Regions from separate parts of the Homo sapiens genome. Here regions 1 and 3 are each linked to region 2. Evidence: promoter capture Hi-C in 16 types of primary human blood cells and fetal thymus (Javierre and others, 2016). All regions are on one chromosome and are shown on one strand. Each heading gives the region's core, a stretch centred on a gene start or on the middle of the fragment in contact. The rest is flanking DNA. Distances are from core to core; before and after follow the strand shown.

The links. Contacts are between HindIII fragments. The CHiCAGO score rates a contact against its expected background, and 5 or more counts as called.
Region 1: a fragment that was not itself captured here is called in contact with the fragment with the promoter of P2RY14 in region 2 in 1 of 17 cell types (monocytes); the score reaches 5.7 in monocytes.
Region 3: a contact is called between a fragment that was not itself captured here and the fragment with the promoter of P2RY14 in region 2, in 1 of 17 cell types (monocytes). The highest score is 5.2, in monocytes.

The regions. Positions count from the first base shown.
Region 1 is chr3:151,918,182-151,922,987 of GRCh38, forward strand. The region is part of intron 1 of AADACL2-AS1 (AADACL2 antisense RNA 1); the gene reads right to left. Among named protein-coding and RNA genes, the nearest start is that of AADACL2-AS1, 7.6 kb to the right of the region's middle. The HindIII fragment of the contact is 3,389 bases long and covers 711-4,099 here.
Region 2 is chr3:151,277,191-151,282,197 of GRCh38, forward strand. P2RY14 (purinergic receptor P2Y14) reads right to left here and starts at 1,352. Exons shown (of 3, transcript NM_014879.4): 1 at 1,097-1,352. All of the region lies in intron 16 of MED12L (mediator complex subunit 12L), which reads left to right. The HindIII fragment of the contact is 3,614 bases long and covers 1-1,996 here.
Region 3 is chr3:151,854,011-151,858,673 of GRCh38, forward strand. All of the region lies in intron 1 of AADACL2-AS1 (AADACL2 antisense RNA 1), which reads right to left. Among named protein-coding and RNA genes, the nearest start is that of SUCNR1, 17 kb to the right of the region's middle. The HindIII fragment of the contact is 7,050 bases long and covers 1-4,663 here.

The DNA.
Region 1 (4,806 bases), core at 1,155-3,654, 640 kb after region 2:
GAGCCATGTCTCTGAAATACATCAATTATAAGCCACAGCAAAAATATTGCTTATGAAAGAAACCAAAAACAGAATGTGTGCTTTAAATTTTTGTTCTTGTTCTACTTAAATTTGAGAAACTAGGAATATAAACCTGGCAGATGGGGGTGGGGGCATAACTCTAGACAAAGTTAGAAATGCAGATAAGGTATTCTGGCCAAGTCTTTAATTTTGGAGGTTATGGTTAAATCATCTGCAATGTACAGTTAAGAAATGTGCTTTTACTGCCCTCAAGTGGTTTTAAAATTGTCACTGCAACATTTCTGACGACTTCAAAGTGAATGTTTCAAAACCCTAAGCAGTCTTCACATTTTCCAGGCTATCTGACAAGGGAATCTGAAATAATAATCTTTTATTCTGAAATAGTTTCTAAATAAGCAAATAATGAAATGGATCAGGTAGATTTATGTTGTTGTGTTGAAATATATGCACTAATACAGATTTGTAAAATTGTTTCTCTTCTTTTTTTAAAAATGTAACTGTAGCTTATACATGGACTCTCAGCTGGTCAGGGTTTGCGTAGGAAGATAGTATGACAGTTACTTCTTCTTCTAAATTAAGCAGCTGAAAATTATATAAATATTCAGAGAATGTAAGCTTCAACATCTTTGTAAGTGCTGTTTCTCTGCTTCCCTTTCTACCTCACAGGAGAACACCTGAGTAGAGCAGAAAGCTTGCTGGGCCAGCCCTGCCTGCTGGCTCTTTGCTAGACTGGGTGGGTGGCCCACCGTGTTGCTGCCTTGGCCCCTCCTTGTCGCTTTCGGATGCTGCCAACCCCTTGTGATATGGTTTGGCTGTGTCTCCACCCAAATCTCACCTTGACTTGTAATAAACTCCACGTGTCAAAGGTGGGGCCAGATGGAGATAATTGAATCATGAGGGCAGTTTCACCCATACTGTTCTTGTGGTAATGAATAAGTCTCACGAAATCTGATGGTTTTATAAATGGGAGATCCCCTGCATAAGCTCTTTTACCTGCCACTATGTAAGGCATGCCTTTGCTTCTCCTTTGCCTTCCACCATGATTGTGAGGCTCCCCAGCTATGCTGAACTGTCAGTCCATTGAAGCTCTTTCCTTTATAAATTACCCAGTCTAAGGTATGTCTTTATTAGCAGTGTGAGAACAAACTAATACACCTTGAGTCTCAGTCATGCTCTCCTCCACCAGCCCATAGTTTAAGAGATTACTTGCAGTTTCTGCTCTTGGCACATTTACTCCTCACCATTGTGGGCCATTCCAGGCCTGCTGGTTCTTGGCTCTCATCAGCCTTCTTCAGCACCCCCAGGGAAGCACAAAAACATGTCTATATATGTTCACACCAAAAGACAGCCCATGTTGGTGCAAGGTTTCTATCCTGAGCTTTCCTTTTGCTGAAACCTCCTACTGTTCACATGTTCGCTGATCAGAGTCCCCTGGAAGTCTTGTCAACACACGTTTCTGGGCCTATACCCAGAGTTTCTGATTCAGTAGCTCTGGGTGAGTTCCAATGACTTGATGTTCTAGCAGGTTCCCAGATGACGATGCTACTGGTTCTGGGACCACTTTTTAAGAACCACTGGCCTAAACCAGTACTTCCTCCAATTGTTCACATAGAGTTACATGTAAAATATAATAAAATAGCTCATATTTTTGGACCACAGTTGACCATGAGTAACTGAAACAACAAAAAGTGAAACAAGGAATAAGTGGGGACTACTGTAGATGGTTCAAATTTTTCTAATGTGTAGAAAAAAACATAGAGTAACGAGTTTCTCTTTCATAGACAACTATGGGCACATTTTTGAGCGCACATAAGTTTGTTCAAACAAGTTGGGTAAATACCTAGGAATGTGATTGCTGATTGTAGAGTAAGAAAATATATATGTGTTTTGTATATACATATAACACATCTTTCTCCATGTTTTTGTCTTCTTTATTTTATTTGTTGATATTTTGTCATTTCCTACACACATTTTCTATACATATTATATTAGATTTATATCTGTGTAGTTGAGCTACTGTAAATGGTATGGACTCTTTTTCTAATTTTAATGTTTAGTTGTTTATTGCTGGTATATAAGAAATCAATTGACTTTCAACCTTCTATCCTGTGACCCTTTTATATACACTTATCAATTACAGGAATTTATTGTCATTTCATTGGTATTTTAAAATAGAAAATTATATCATTTGTGAATATAGACAGTTTTATCTCTTTCCTTCTGATTGGTGTCCTTATAAGAAGAGGAAATTCAAACACACAGAGATACTAAGGATGCACACAGACAGAGGAAAAAATCACGTGAGGACACAGCAAGAAGGTGGCCATCTGCGAGTCATGGCGACAAGCCTAAGAAGAAGAAAAACCTGAAGGCACCTTGAGCCTGGACTTCTAACCTCCAGAGCGAAATAAAATTCCCTTGTTTAAACTACCCAGCCTATGGTACTATGTTATGGCAGCCCTAGCTAACAAATATAGAACCCTTAACATATTTATCATAGGTATTTTAAATTTTCTGTCTGAAATTCGAACATCTGTGTTACATTTGAGTCTGGGTCTTATGATTGCTTTGTCTCTTCAGACTGTGTATGTGTGAGTGTGTATATGTGCGCACATGCGTACACGCATGTTTTGCCTTTTTGTACATCTTGTAGTTTTTGCTGAAAGCCAAACATGTTGCATTGGGTAATTATTTTGCTGAAAGCCAAACATGTTGCATTGGGTAATTATAACTGAGATAAACTGTCCTTTACTGTCAGGATTTACATTAATCTGGCTGGAATCTAGGCTGTGTTTAATCTCAGCTGTAGCTGTGGGTGCCAGAGGCTTCATGTTCTTCTAGTCTCCTTGCTTTTGTCTTCTTTCTTGACTTTAGGATTCCCTAAGTACTCCTCCTCACAGAGAGTCTGCATCTTGCAGCTCTTTCCGATGTAATCCAGTGTTACTATATTGCAGTCCTGCTGGTGTGGTGGTAAAGTGTCAGTGAGGGGATGCCTTCTATATACTTAGGATGAAAACGCACACTTTTAGTCAGCCTGTGTCTGTGGGCTGTGACTTTCATAAGCATTTCTCCGGTTGTATAGTTTTTGTACCCTCTTAGTTGGGGCAGAAACACTAGAGGGAACTAAAGTGGGAGGAATGCTTTTTTCCAGCTTGGATAAGGCTCAGGTAAAGTCCTTTTATCTGCAGCGTAGTCCATTATGGAGGAGGCTGTGGGTATATTTTACATTGACTAGTTTTTCTTTCCCCTGCTAGTGCCACAAGGGAAACTTTCATGAATATTTACCATGAGAACCTGGAGGGGTTCCCAGAGGTAAAAACCCATAAAATTGTTGAAGCCTCTCTAAGATTGGGACCTCTAGGAGTTTTTTGCTCTCAAATAATCCATACTCAACCTCTAGGAATTTGTTAAAATTAATATTTTAGTTTTTCTGCCAGCTTATGGTGCTAATGGCTTCTGCTCCAGATAAGTTGCTCCACTGTGACTGTCTGGATTCACGTATGTATTCTTTTTCTACTGACCACTATAGCAAATTACTACAAACTTGGTGTCTTAAAACAACACAAATATATTATCTTAAAATTCTAGAAGTCAGAAGTCTGAAATCGTTTACATCAAGCTAAAATCAATTAGTCAGCAGGGCTATGTTCCTTCTGGATGCTCTAAGGGAGAATTCATTTTCTTGCGTTTTCCATGCATTAATATAAGGCCAAGCACTTTTCAAACTGGTATCACAATAGTTCTCTTCTGCTACCCCTTCCAAATTTGAAGACCATTATAATTATATTGGGTCCAACTAATATTGCAGGATAATCTCCCTGTTTAAATATCAGTTGATTAGCAACCATAATTCCATCTACTACTTTAATTCCTCTTTTCTTTGTCATATAGCATATTCATAGAATCCAAGGATTACGACTTGGATTTCTCTTCAGCCATTATTTTGCCTATCACTGCCTGTCCAGATTTCAGTGGCAGGTTGCTCTGAAACCTTAGTTCTTTGATAGATCTAAGAACAGTTGTTGATTCTTAGTTTCTTCAGCTTTTTGTTATTTAAGGATAGGAGTGATGACTTCTAAGCTTTTTTTTGAGACGGAGTCTCGCTCTGTCACCCAGGCTGGAGGACAGTGGCATGATCTCGGCTCACTGCAACCGCCACCTCTCAGGTTCAAGCAATTCTCCTGCCTCAGCCTCCTGATAGCTGGGACTACAGGTGTGTGCCACCACACCTGACTAATTTTTGTATTTTTATTAGAGATGGGGTTTCACCATGTTGGCCAGGCTGGTCTTGAACTCCTGACCTCAGGGGATCTGCCCACCTTGGCCTCCCGAAGTGCTAGGATTACAGGCATGAGCCACCACGTCCGGTCGACTTCTAAGTTTTTTAGATGGTGGGGCTAACACTAGAAGTAGTAAGCACTTTTTCATACTAAATCCAGAGTTCTTAAATAGCAGTAACTGAATCTCTCACCTTTTTGTCTCTGGCATTTATTAGATGGACAAGTTTTGAGTGAGAGGATGTGGAAGGAAGGTAATCTCTCCATTAAAAACACTTTGCTTTAGATTTGAATAACTTAGAGCAAAAGATGGAATATAATAGATTGACATTTCACAGAGGTGTCTAAGTAGTCCTTTGAAAATAAATGAGGACAATTACAGTAGATACAAAGAAGACTGTCACTGGATTATGATTTGAAAGCTGTGCCCTGTATCCGGTGAAGTTTCTCTTTAAAGAACATTTTGTGCTTCATCAAAACCAAACCAAATCTAGTCAATCCTATTTCA
Region 2 (5,007 bases), core at 102-2,601:
ACCATGCCTGGCCTCCTTGTTTTTTTTTTTTCCAGACATGACAATATAGAGTTCATTCATATATACCAATGTGTTAATTGTGTGCACACAATTGTATGCATGTTTGTATATATAGTATTCATAAATTTTACCGAAATATAAAATTCATTGCATGTTTACAAATCATAAAATATGCCATTTTGGTATTTTCCGAGTGCATTGTTTTCTTTTTAACTTAATGGCTAGGTTTTTTTTTAGTGCTAAAACTGATTATCAAGTTTGTATGTTTTAGAAAGATGAATATACAAACTATTTATTTTTTTACTAGTGTGATCTTTGATTCATTTTCTCCGTAGGATTGATTGTCCTTGGTTAACAAAGTATATGTAGACAAGATGGATTGCATGGGCTTGGTTGAATAAGCTGACATTGTGGGTCTGTGCTAATTCTCCTGAATGTAATTTAATTTATAATGTTTAAAGAATTGTAAGTAATTTAGCTGATTAGTCATAGACTATAAATAAGTAGCATATGAACTCAAATATTTGCTATGCCTAGGACAGATATTTCTGTGATTTACAATTTAAAGGCATTTTATTTTAGTAGGTGTTAATGGGGTTAACTTATCCTAATAATGACAAAGATAAAAACTTTTACCTATATAAGTGTATGTACAAGTAAATGCAACTATATATCTGTACACATATGCAATTGCAAACAAAGACATACTGACCTAAGTATTATGCTAATCGATTTTGTAGTTTTGAGAAGCAATTTTAATACACATTTACGAGCTTTTGAAATGTTTGTCCTGGATGAATACCTTTTAAACATTTTCCTTGATATCTCTTCATCACAGATATATTTTGACAGCCACGATTGGAAATCCTAAATCATAAATGATAATATTTCAGTATTGGATCCCCATATTAGCATGGGGAAATATATTAATATACCAATTATAGTTGTCAAACAAAAAGTAACCTACTGAGAAAAATGTGAGTGGCAATGGTTCAGTGTTCCTCAGCTTTGTTGCTGCCCAGCTCAGAAATCTTTTCTGTTCCCATGCACCATTCACATACATGCAAGTCATTTCATGGAAAAGCTGTTTTCTTACCTGCGTCTAGGCCTTCATCTGTGAGAGTCATGCTTCACTCATTTTGAAATACCTCTCATTGTAGGCTCCAAGGTAACACTGTTACAGAGTTCTTGCTCATCTTCAACTACGGATGAAAATCAGGAACTTGACAGAAACCACAAGATAGTGGGTCCCTCTGCTGCTGTTGTCAGATAGAATTTATTGAAGACTGGGACGTGGAAACAAAGAGGAAGGAAGAGACGTTTTAATCTCTGTGGGTGTTAGGCTGACTTCTGAGCTAGTTCCTTTCCTCCAGTAATGCAAAAACAGTCCTGCTTTCTTATTTCTCCTCCTACTTTTCCCCACATCCCTACATCATCTGATGCACAGCCAGGCAAAAACCTGTTTTCTTTTCTAACCTTTGCCATTGTCAAATTCAACATGTGGTATGAGGTGGAGAACTGATGTGTAAGATATGGTTCTTTCTGAAGCACCCTCAGAAAATTGTCAGCAGCTTCACAGTATAACGTGCAGAGATGGGTAGTTGGAGCTACCTGGAAATGCGGAATTAACAGAATAAAGAAGTATTTTGACACCAATGTCGACATATTCTAGATAAGAGGTGTTGCATTGTCATTTTTCCCACATTAATTTTCCCATATTTGAACATTACTGATAAATAGATCACAAGTAGGACTTCAGATAAACTCCTCGTGTGTTAACATTTTGGTGTTTGTGCTGTGTTACTATTTTGAAAGTCTTCATATTTTTAGTTCCTTTCAGGCTCTGTAATATAATTGGTGATGTCCTGCAGTGCTCCACTGTCTTTCCCATTGACTATTAGTGCCATTAGATTTGGAAGTTTTCAGAAGATGGCTACAAAGTCCTCTTCAAAGTGTATAACTCAGAACCAGAAAGAAAGAAGACAAGGGGCTGAAAAGCTTACTTTATAAGGTTCCTGCATTTTAAGTGTATTTACTTAGGCTGTTCCATTGCCAAATTATGGGTAACAACTAGTAAAGTTCAGCTTGCCTTAAAAACATAGCTATACATTTAGTTATAATAATTATAACTGGCTTATGACATGCCCGTTACTATTCTAGTTGCTTTATATGTACTTGCTACGTAGGAGGCAGTGTTCTGGACATTGGAGATGGAGTAGTGACTGACACATACCCAAACAGTTATTTCCCTCATGAAGAGTATTTTCTTACTTTCTGTCTCACAGACTTGCTAGTCACTGTTGATCCTTGGCAAAGACCTGTGAGACACAGAGCTTGTTTAGAGAAGTTCGCCATTTCTCCCTGCCAGAGGGACTCTTCTTCAGACCCCCAGCGGGCCCCAATAGTCCTCACTGATGCTTTGATTGAGGGGCTAAGAATACTGATGTGCATAGAGAGGCTTGTTAGCTTCAGCTGCAGTGAGATCTGGTAGGTAAATAAACTTAAGGACAAGTGGATGTGAGGAGGAGCCGCTAGAGCCTGGTTATTACCAGGGCACATTGCAGAGTCCTCCAGATGTAAACATTTTGCTGATTAAATTGATGATTTGGCAGGAACCGTATCTCTAAGGTGCGACTCTCAAGACTTCCCTGATTTATTGCAGGAGATGCTGTTTACTCTGACAGTCTCAAAAACACCCATTAATTGTTCCGGGTCCCTTTTGTGCTTCTTGACTTCCCCGTGGGGTGTTTCACATAGATGTTATTGAGTATGACTGGGGAGAACATGATAATTTGTTGCTTCTTGACTTCCCCGTGGGGTGTTTCACATAGATGTTATTGAGTATGACTGGGGAGAACATGATAATTTCTTTGACTGGAGCTGCTTGCTTGCCTCTTAATGCCAGGAGTTGCAAAGTCCAAGGCCAAAAGGATAGCCCTACAGGTGGTCCCCTCGTGGCAGGTGGTACAAATGGGTTGGACTCTGTGTAAGACACTTGGGAGTAGAGGGAGTATGGAGAAATGGAAAGCTAAAGGGCCCACCCAGGGGGACAGTTGTGTCTGGAAGCTTGCCAGAGTCATGGGCCTCATCTTGGGATGGGCCAGTGTCTTCAGAACATTAAACGCTGATTTGCATGTACTGTTCTAAACACTCTGTGTGTTTTAGCTTGATTACTCACAATGGCTCCATGAGTAAAGTAGGTCTGTCTACTACTTCTTCCCCACCTTTTTCTTAATAGACAAGGAAACTGAGGCATGGAGATGTTACATCAGGTTGCTGGAGCTGGGCAGATCCTGGAGCCTGTGCACTGCTACTGCCTTTATATGTCTCCTCTGATTTCATTTGTTGGTGTCTAAATCGAATACCTTACAAACCAGTGTAGACCTGATACCCTGTGGGCTAAAACAAAACCTGAGTGTGCACTGTATTGGGCTTGTGAGCAGTCAGCTTGTGACCTCTGTTCTGTGGTTTTATTGGCACGTAGCAGTACAAGGATGGTGAGGGGTGGGTAGGGGGCAGACAGCTAGGCACTTGAAAGGAAAGCTCATCTGGAAAGATTGGATCGTCTCAAATGCACATACTCGTACACTCGATTGAAGCGTACTCTGTGCCTACTAGATCTTTTCACAGCCAAAACACCTGGCAACCCTTGGAGAAGTAACTATTCCTTTTTTTCACAAGTAAGAAAATAGAGCCTCAGAAAATTTAACAGTTGTCTAAGCTAGAAAGTAGCAGGACTGGACTTTGAAGTAGTCTTTAGGTTGTGCTGTACATTTTGTGGATATGCTTAAATCACAGTTTAGCTTGTACACATTTTCCTTTATTAGAATTGGAAGTAAGTATTAATGTTTGAAAAAATATTTTAGCCTGACAATATTTATTCTATCTTCATATGTTTTTGAAATTAGATATTTTAAACTAGGCACGGTGGCTCACGCATGTAATCTCAGCAGTTTGGGAGGCCGAGGCAGGCAGGTCACAAGGTCAGGAGCTCCAGACCAGCCTGACCGACATGGTGAAACCCTATCTCTACCAAAAATACAAAAAAAAAAAAAAAAAAAAAAAAAAAGTTAGCTGGGCATGGTGGAGTTCGCCTGTGATCCCAGCTGCTCAGGAGGCTGAGGCAGGAGAATCACTCGAACCCGGGAGGTGGAAGTTGCAGTGAGCTGAGATTGCGCCACTGTACTTCAGCCTGGGCAACAGAGTGAGACTCTGTCTCAAAATAAATAAATAAAAAATAAAAAGATATTTTATTATGACTTTTAGCAACGTAGGTAATGACTCTTTTCAACACTAGACACCAGGCATAATACAACATAGCCAATAACGACATTATAATTAAAATAATAGAGGGCCTGGTCCTTGTGTGCAAGAATCTTTTAAAAAACAAAATCTAAAATAGTCAATATTTTCCTTTTATCTGTGGTGTTTTGATTTATGCTAAATAGTTCTGAATTCCCATTTCCTTTGGTGGAATCCTAAGATTAAAGTACTGTGATTTCCTCCTGACTAATCTTTTTCTCAGAGCCCTCAACATAACCCTGATATGACAACCACCCCTAGCCCACCCCACGTGCTCACACATTCTCCAATACCATTTAGAGACAGGACTCTGCCTTATTAGTAATAGGACTGGTTATATATAAACATCCCTTGTGTATTCATACTACAAATAGAATGAGTTTAACACACGTAATCCCCAAATATGTCTGTAACTGTTTCCAGTCAGTTTCTATCCAGGCCGTCATCGACTGCGCATAAATAGCTGGCTGGCTTACATTTTGATTCCATAAATGTCCTATTTTGCTCCTTACCCCGGAATTCACCTATGCATAATTGTTACCATATGTCTTTTGAAATCATTTTTCTTTAAAGTAAGTACAGAGACAACTTCATTGTTACTGCCCTTCCCCTGCCTTTCCCTGGTTGCTTTATTGAGCATAGTGAGTAAGACACTAGCGCATCCGGCCTCATCCCCACTTGCTCTCTTGGAGACTTGTTCATGTG
Region 3 (4,663 bases), core at 461-2,960, 580 kb after region 2:
TCCTGCTCTTTTTGAGGTAAATTTATATACAATGAAAGATAAAAATATCATATATATAAGTATATATCATATATAAATATATCTATGATATATATAAATATATCTATGATATATATAAATATATCTATTAAATATATATCATATATAAATGTATATATCATACACACACACACACACACACACACATATATATATATATATATATATATATATATATATATATATATATATATATAAAGGGGAATTTATAAAGTATTAACTCACACAATCACAAGGTCCCACAATAGGTCATCTGCAGGCTGAGGAGCAAGGAGGGCCAGTTTGAGTTCCAAAACTGAAGAACTTGGACTCCAATGTTCAAAGGCAGGAAACATCCAGCTCAGGAGAAAGATGTAGGCTGGGAGGCTAGGCCAGTCTCTCTTTTCACATTTTTCTGCCTGCTTATATTCTAGCCATGCTGGCAGCTGACTAGATTGTGCCCACCCAGATTAAGGCCGTGTCTGCATTTCCCAGCCCACTGATTCAAATGTTAATCTCCTTTGGCAACACCCTCACAGACACACCCAGGATCAATACTTTGTATCCTTGAATCCAGTCAGATTGACATTCAGTATTAAGCATCACACTTAGGCAACCCCAACCCTATCTCTATCAAGTTTCAGAAAATTACTATCATCACCTCCCAAAAAGTTTTCTGGTGCCTCTTTCCAGTAAATCCCAGTGCCATGGCCACAGATCCAGCCTTTGCTCAAATGATTCCACAATAAATTTGTGTTTCTAGTAGTTAGTAGTTAGAAATCTTTTAATTTGCCCAGGTTTTCATCACAAATCAAAGTGTTGTTTGATAAAATACTGTTAAATTTCAATAATAGGAGCAATGTTGTAGTAGTTTATAGTCTAAAGCATTTCAAATGTCGTAAACTATCTGATTTGATACTCCCCTACCCCCACCAAGCAAATTTATTTTACAGATGAAGACCTGATTACAGATGAACATCTGAGGCTGGTAGAGGTGGAAAAACACATTTGAGTGCAGTCAGAACCTAATCCCAGATTTGAAGATTCTGAAGCCAATGCTCTTTTCTGTTATTTCATATAGTGTAGTGTTCTAATTTTATTTTATTATGAAATGAGAATGCACAGATTGGCCATAAAATATAGAAACATAGATAAAGTTTCTTTTTTTTTTAACAAAATGAACCTACTTATTTTTCTCCATAATGTGCCAAAAAAGAAATTTTACTCAGTAAAAATGAGACACATGACGTGAGCCAGCACATCGCAGACACATGTGCAGGTTTGATGGAAATACCGTGTGGATGGACGGTCTTCACGGTGGTTTTGCACAGCACCTTGACCTATGCATTGCTAGTGAGGCATAACGCACAGGACATGTCACTAATGTTATGAAACATGTCATGCATTACAAGGTGATATCAATAATGTATATATATATTTGAATCTGTTTCTAAGTTTCACAGAAATTCTATAGCATTTACACCTCTGACTATTAAGATTATATTAAGAGCAACTTTCCTTGCCATAATATAAATAATGTTTATAAGTGATTTTTATGAATACAAAATGATTTTACTTTACACGTATCAGTTATTTTCCTGTGTCAACCCAAATAAACCTCTAGAGATGTCTACCAGTGGCTAAATTTTGTATCTTTTGTAGAGCCAGGGTTTCGCCATGTTGCTGGGGCTGGTCTCCAACTCCTGGCCTCAAGCAATCCGCCCACCTCTGCCTTCCAAAGTGCTGAGATTACAGGCAAGAGCCACTGTGCCTGGCAAAATTTGATTAATACTGATTTTAGTTTAAAACATGGTAGAAATGAAGTATATAAATGTCGACTTTGGCTTACAAGTAAATTTAATAAGCTACTTCTCATTCAGCATCTGATTGGAAGAGGTGATGCACCTTCCCCATAGATCTGTGATTATTTTACTTTACACAGAGCATTGGGCAAATATAAATTTCTCTGCAACTTCAAGAAATACCACTAGATGAGGATGAAGAAATTGCATCATATAAATCCCCAAGAGAAGGATAACAGAAATGGAGAAAAAGAGATCTACATGGTTTTGGAATATAGTAAGACTTGAGAAAGCTGAAACAGCACATGCCTATTAACGGCTAGAAAACATGGCCATAGAAAAACCAGATTGTCTTAGGAGTTTGATATGCAAGGTTTTTTGAAACTCAGTGGTATTCAGACAGTGGGTAAGCTACTTAGGAAAAATCAATCAATGCTGTTAACTGTTGGCTTGGTTCCAATATTTTGCCGAAATGGGCATATCTGATGCCATGGTATTTAAAAGCAAGCAGTGCAAGTAGCCTGGAGCTGTGGTGATTCAGCACATACATTCTCAGTTAATTTTCTGTTATCTGTCTTTCATGGGCCTGTTGTCACCAAGACCGGTGACCACTTATTTATTTTAATTTATCCTGAAAATTCATATCCAGTCTTCTGTAAATTTAATACCTTATGAATGTTTTCATCAAATCCCTCTGTCTTTACACCCCGCCCCCTCCACCTAACCATTGTTTCTGTGTGTGTCCGTGTCCTGATCACCTCTTCTTATAAATACTACAGTCACATTGGATTAGGGCATACCCTAGTGACCTCATTTTAACTTAGTTTTTTCTTTAAAGATTCGCTCTCCAAATGCAATCACATTCTGATGTACTGGGGATTAAGAATTCAGCATGTGAATTTGGTGGTGGTGGTGAATTCAGCCCCTAAAAGGAAGAAAAGATAATCAATTCACCAATGAAAGTAGGTGTATTTCCACACATAAAGGCCCTACTAAGTGCCCAGCACATTCAATAAAAAATACTTACCCTAAGGTATATTAACACCAAACTTAAAACCAGTAGGGGAAGAGAAACTAGATGCAAGGTGCAAAAATTATTGCTTGTAAAAGACCGAATGGCACTGAATTTTTTTAATTATTATTAGAGATGAGGGTCTTACTATGTTGCCCAGGCTGTTGTCTTTTTTGTTTTGTTTTTTGACACAGAGTCTCCCTCTGACTCAAACTCCTAGGCTCAAGTGATACTACTGCCTCCCAAGTAGCTGAGACTATAGGCATGGACCACTGCACCCAACATGGCATTGAACTTAGCAAAGGTTTGAGAGCTTAAATACAATGGAAGTTGCTTTTTAAAATTCTGAAGTAGAATCATTTTCAATCAAACATTTACCTTCTGAGGTACGTGTATATATATCTATATATGTGTGTGTATATATGTATATACACACACACACATTGGTAGTTAGTTACAATACATTGGTAGATACTGAATGGAGATCCAACAAAAATTGCAATCTAATTTTGTAGGGATGATGAAAGAAGATGTTGTGTTTAAATATCTATAAGAGGTTATATACTTATCTTGAAAAGAAAGTCAAACAATAGCACCTAAAATTGAAAAATTAACCGAGGCAGGTGGATCACCTGAGGTCGAGTTCGAGACCAGCCTGACCAACGTGGCGAAACCCCGTCTCTACTAAAAATACAAAAGTTAGCCTGGCATGGTGGCGGGTACCTGTAAGCCCAGCTACTTGGGAGGCTGAGGCAGAAGACTCGCTTGCAGAGGTTGCAGTGAGTTGAAATCGTGCCATTGTACTCCAGCCTGGGCAACAAGAGTGAAACTCTGTCTCAAAAAAAAAATTTTTTTCAAATTTAGAATTAGGGAAATACATACTAGTGTTTTCTTATCTACACATACTGTATATATAATATATACAGACAGTCCTGTTCAAACATATTTTGAAATAGTATCTGTGCAAAGTACTCTTCTGGCCATGACCAGGGGTAGGGTACAATATAATATATGTGATATAATCCTTGGCATTAAAAATGTCTATTCACATATAGTTATCAATTGTCTTAAACTCAAAATTTTTGATTGTATAATTGTATTTAGATGTCTACATCAGTGGTACTAACATAAGTATTGGCATTTAGCAGCAGAAGATATTATTGCCAGCTAATATTCCAATGTAGGATTTGAAACTTGAAGAATAGACAGAATTTTGACTGGAAGTGAGGGAGAAAGAATTCCCCATTTGTGGGGGGAATTTTATCATGGATTAAAGAAAAAAAGAGTGTACCATCCAACATGTAGTTGAGACTAAGTATGCAAAAGAAGAAACATAGTTGGTTAGAAAGATGGAGTGTGATAGATTGGTTGGGCTTCTTGAAAGTTAAAGGATTTATACTTAATCCTCATATAGTAGGTAGCTGCTGAAAGTTTTTAAATAGGAGAATATATGATAAAAGGGGTTGCTTTAAGTTTCTTAAAATTTATTTTGAGGATAATTTGAGCTAGAAATGAGAATCTTACTAATTTTTTATTAATACATGATTGCCCATATTTGGGGGATACATGTGATATTTTGACACATGCTTATAATGTGCAGTGATATGAGAAAATCTAAATCAAAATGAGAAAGTGGAAAAAAGGTGTGTGTGAGTGTATTTGTGTGTATAAAAAGACAGATTCTTTCAGAATGCAAATATCATTCCATCCCATTTTTACTTAAAACATTTCTATTGTTTCCTCTGCCTTCATAATATGAATGTCTTTAACTGTTCCCACATGGTCTTGCACTAGGCAGCCCTGAATGTGAGAGCCCAGTCTCTCATAAATT